Regions from separate parts of the Homo sapiens genome. Here region 1 is linked to region 2. Evidence: promoter capture Hi-C in human tissues and cell types (Jung and others, 2019). All regions are on one chromosome and are shown on one strand. Each heading gives the region's core, a stretch centred on a gene start or on the middle of the fragment in contact. The rest is flanking DNA. Distances are from core to core; before and after follow the strand shown. Region 1 has its middle 12 kb from the start of OR4A16. Region 2 holds the start of OR4A15 (olfactory receptor family 4 subfamily A member 15).

Evidence for each region. The method cuts DNA at HindIII sites, captures the fragments that hold promoters and counts their contacts. A contact is called where the count stands out against the background at its distance.
Region 1: a fragment that was not itself captured here is called in contact with the fragment with the promoter of OR4A15 in region 2 in 1 of the 25 tissues and cell types used here (mesenchymal stem cells).

What each region holds. Positions count from the first base shown.
Region 1 is chr11:55,329,514-55,332,213 of GRCh38, reverse strand. No RefSeq gene overlaps it. Among named protein-coding and RNA genes, the nearest start is that of OR4A16, 12 kb to the left of the region's middle. The HindIII fragment of the contact is 3,441 bases long and covers 1-2,700 here.
Region 2 is chr11:55,366,664-55,369,363 of GRCh38, reverse strand. It overlaps OR4A15 (olfactory receptor family 4 subfamily A member 15), which reads right to left and starts at 1,390. Exons shown (of 1, transcript NM_001005275.2): 1 at 446-1,390. The coding sequence starts at 1,390. The coding sequence ends at 446. The HindIII fragment of the contact is 5,098 bases long and covers 1-2,429 here.

The sequences.
Region 1 (2,700 bases), core at 85-2,584, 37 kb after region 2:
AACAAAATTGATAGACCACTAGCAAGACTAATAAAGAAGAAAATACAGAAGAATCAAATAGATGCAATACAAAATGATAAAAGGGATATCACCCCCAATCCCACAGAAATACAAACTACCATCAGAGAATACTATAAACACCTCTACACAAATAAACTAGAAAATCTAGAAGAAACGGATAAATTCCTCGACACATACACCCTCCCAAGACTAAACCAGGAAGAAGTTGAAACCCTGAATAGACCAATAACAGTCTCTAAATAATTTGTAGACTACCAACCAAAAAAAGTCCAGGAACAGATGGATTTACAGCCGAATTCTATGCGAGGTACAAAGAGGAGCTGGTAACATTCCTTCTGAAACTATTCCCATCAATAGAAAAGGAGGGAATCGTCCCTAACTCATTTTATGAAGCCAGCATCATACTTATAACAAAGCCTAGCAGAGACACAACAAAAAAAAGAGAATTTTACACCAATATCCCTGATGAACATTGATGCAAAAATCCTCAATACGATACTGGCAAACTGAATCCAGCAGCACATCAAAAAGCTTATCCACCATGATCAAGTGGGCTTCATCCCTGGGATGCAAGGCTGGTTCAACATATGCAAATCAATAAATGTAATCAATGATATAAACAGAACCAAAGACAAAAACACATGACTATCTCAATAGATTCAGAAAAGGCCTTTGACAAAATTCAACAGCACTTCATGCTAAAAACTCTCAATAAGTTAGGTTTTGATGGAACGTATCTCAAAATAATAAGAGCTCTTTATGACAAACCCACAGCAAATACCATACGGAATGGGAAAAAGCTGGAAGCATTCCCTTTGAAAACTGGCACAAGACAGGGATGTCCTCTCTCACCACTCCTATTCAACATAGTGTTGGAAGTTCTGGCCAGGGCAATTAGGCAGGAGAAGGAAATAAATGGTATTCAATTAGCAAAAGAGGAAGTCAAATTGTCCCTGTTTTCAGATGATATGATTATATATTTAGAAAACCCCATAGTCTAAGCCCAAAATTTCCTTAAGTAGATAAGCAACTTCAGCAAAGTGTCAGGATACAAAATCAATGTGCAAAAATCACAAGCATTCCTATACACCAATAACAGACAAATAGAGAGCCAAATCATGAGTGAACTCCCATTCACAATTGCTTCAAGGAGAATAAAATATCTAGAAATCCAAGTTACAAGGGATGTGAAGGACTTCTTCAAGGAGAACTACAAACCACTGCTCAACAAAATAAAAGAGGACACAAACAAATGGAAGAACATTCCACGCTCATGGATAGGAAGAATCAATATTGTGAAAATGGCCATATTGCCCAAGGTAATTTATAGATTCAATGCCATCCCCATCAAGTTACCAACGACTTTCTTCACAGAATTGGAAAAAACTACTTTAAAGTTCATATGGAGCCAAAAAAAGCCCGCATTGCCAAGACAATCTTAAACCAAAAGACCAAAAATGGAAGCATCATGCTACCTGACTTCAAACTATACTACAAGGCTACAGTAACCAAAATAGCATGATACTGGTACCAAAACAGAGATATAGACCAATGGAACAGAACAGAGGCCTTAGAAATAACACTGCACATCTACAACCATCTGATCTTTGACAAACCTGACAAAAACAAGCAATGGGGAAAGGATTCCCTATTTAATAAATGGTGCTGGGAAAACTGGCTAGCCATATGTAGAAAGCTGAAAGTGGATGCCTTCCTTACACCTTATAGAAAAATTAATTCAAGATGGATTAAAGACTTAAATGTTATACCTAAAAGCATAAAGAGCCTAGAAGAAATCCTAGGCAACACCATTCAGGACATAGGCATGGGCAAGGACTTCATGTCTAAAACACCAAAAGCAATGGCAACAAAAGCCAAAATTGACAAATGGGATCTAATTAAACTAAAAAGCTTCTGCACAGCAAAAGAAACTACCATCAGAGTGAATAGGCAACCTACAGAATGAGAGGAAAATTTTGCAATCTACCCATCTGACAAAGGACTAATATCCAGAATCTACAATGAACTCAAACAAATTTACAAGAAAAAAATCAAACCACCCCATCAAAAAGTGGGCAAAGGATATGAATAGACACTTCTCAAAGGAAGACATTTATGCAGCCAACAGACACATGAAAAAATGCTCATCATCACTGGTCATCAGAGAAATGCAAATCAAAGCCACAATGAGATACCATCACACACCATTTACAATGGCAATCATTTAAAAGTCAGGAAACAACAGATGCTGGAGAAGATGTGGAGAAATAGGAACACTTTTACACTGTTGGTGGGACTGTAAACTAGTTCAACCATTTTGGAAGAGAGTGTGGTGATTCCTCAAGGATCTAGAGCTAGGAATACCATTTGACCCAGCAATACAATTACTGGGTATATACCCAGAGGATTATAAATCATGCTACTATAAAGAGACATGCACACATATGTTTACTGCGGCACTATTCACAATAGCAAAGATTTGGCACCAACTCAAATGTCCATCAATGATAGACTGGATTAAGAAAATGTGGCACATATACACCATGCAATATTATACAGCGTAAAAAGGATGAGTTCATGTCCTTTGCAGGGACATTGATGAAGCTGGAAACCATCATTCTCAGCAAACTATCACAAGGACAGAAAATCAAACACCATATGTTCTCACTCATAGGTGGG
Region 2 (2,700 bases), core at 141-2,640:
GATGTTACCACACACAAAAAATCAATGTTGGGGAGGTGACAGATATATTCATTAGACTGATGAAATCTTTCTATAATGTATACATAGATCAGAACATCACATTGTACTCCATAAATATACCCAATTATTGACAATTTAAAATACATAAAAAAGAAAAATAAATAAATGATTTTTAAATAAAAAAGAGCTTGAAATAAAACTAAATATTGTTATCAACCAAAGAATCTTAACACAGTATGATTACAAAAACAGTACACACTGTTAAACCTATGCAATTTTCTTGGTCTGTAATGGGTGTAACATATTACACCTAGACAAATATTAATTTATATGACTGCTTCAGAATAAGTAAGCTAAAAAACTAAAAGGAAATGATAACAGAAATGTAATCAGATAGGATAGTGAAATTGTTCCTTGCTTCTGTGAAAGAATGAATGTCACATTCTCATGAGTGATACAGCCATTTCCCAGCTAAGCTTACTTTTTTACTCCAAAGTTTCCTCATGGCACTTTTCATTTCTGCATTCTTCAGGGTATAGATTAGTGGGTTCAGCATGGGAGTTATAAAAGTTAGAACTACAGTCATGGATTTATCAATGGGAAAAGTAGAATTGGGCCTTGCATACAAGAAGATACAGGGGACAAAGAATAAAATGACCACAGTGACGTGGGATGCACAGGTGTAGAAAGCTTTTCGTTTCCCTTCCAAACTCTGAGTCTTAAGAGAGTGTAATATGACCCCATAGGAAAGCAGGATAGTGAAGAAGGTGACAGCACAAATCGCTCCTCCATTAGCTATCATAGAAAGCCCAGTGACATAGGTATTGGTGCAAGCAAGTTTCAATAAGGGATACAAATCACACAGGAAGTTGTCAATGACATTGGGTCCACAGAAAGGGAGCTGATAAATAAAGAGAAATTGAACCAATGAGTGAAGAAAGCCTCCAATCCAGGCCGCCAACAGCATAAGAACACAGACTCGACGATTCATGGTGATCAATTCATGAAGAGGCTTACAGATGGCCATGTATCGATCATAGGCCATTACCACCAGAAGAATGACTTCAGCACCAGCAAATAAATGATCCATAAAAAGTTGAGCCATACAACCCTGAAAGGAAATGGTCTTTTTCTCAGAGAGCAAGTCAACAATCATTTTGGGAGCAAATGCAGTAGAATAGACGGTATCTATGAATGATAAAGAAGCCAGAAAAAAGTACATGGGGGAACCCAGGGACTGGCTGGCCATGATGGTCACTATGATAAGCAGGTTGCCCATTATCGTCACCATGTAGATTAGTAAGAATGTGACAAATAAAACCTTTTGCCCCTCAGGGTTCTGTGTGAGCCCTAAGAGGATAAATTCAGTCACATTGTTCTTATTTTTCATGTGTTCTTCTGAAGGTGTTGGACTCAGGTGTCGGAGCCTACAAACAAAAGGGTCAGTGATAAATTTGAGATTATTTGTCAGAAGCTCCATGTCAAAAATGTGATGCCTTATCGACCACGTTTTCCCTGACCAGGGCCTCACACAGAGCAGCTCATTAGAAAAGAAGTGTTTAGAATATCCTCCCACAATTATCCTTTTCATTTTTACAAATGGGACATGGATGAAGCGGGAAACCATCATTCTCAGCAAACTATCACAAGAACAGAAAACAAAACACTGCATGTTCTCATTCATAAGTGGGAGTTGAACAAGGAGAACACATGGACACAGGGAGGGGAACATCACACACCGGGGCCTGTTGGGGAGTGGGGAGCTAGGGGAGTGATAGCATTAGGAGAAATACGCTATGCAGGTGATGGGTTGATTGGTGCAGCAAATCAGCATGGCACATGTGTACCTATGTAACAAAGCTGCACATTCTGCACATATACTCCAGAACTTAAAGTATAATTTTAAAAAAAGAATTTTAAAAAATACAAATGTATTGCTTTAACTGCAATGATGAGGCTTCATGATTTTAACTGGAAGGTATATGTGAGTGAATATATATGTGAGATAATCTATTACAGATCAAAATAGAGCTGCTTTCTTGAGAACATCCCTTAAAAAGACTGTATTTTTGATATTTATATAGTATTTATCTTTTTTTGAACAGATTTTGTCCTTCCATGATCTATCAAGAAAACAGCCTCATATGTGTTGACTTTACTTATATATTTATGTAAAGTAGTACCCAGTATATGGAGCATAAGATTACAGGCTAATGTTTAGATATTTGCCATTCTGAAACACTGTACTGTGAGCTCCTAGAATCCAGGAATAACTCGCTCAAAGAACCAGACACATTGTGAGTGCTCACTAAATGTTTATTAAATTTTATTAAACCAAATTTCAAAGCTCAGAGAGCAAGTATGTGGAAATAAATGTATTAAAATCTTGCCAGCCATGAAAGTCCAATGAAAGCAAAGTTTTATTTGAAAAGAAACTACACACACACACACACATATACACACACACACACACTGAATTTTCATCTATTACAACGTAGGTCATTAGAGGAAAAAAACAGGTAATACAAATCAAAGTCGGGGGGCAATGCAGAGACATTTTCCCCACTTTTCGCATTTGTTTAAGACTGATCATGGCTAATTACAGATTAATTTGGAATGTCAAAAATAAAGACTCCAGGCAAAATCATGGTGTAGTAGAAATAATTCTATACTAAAAATCTGAAAATATTAGTTGATTTT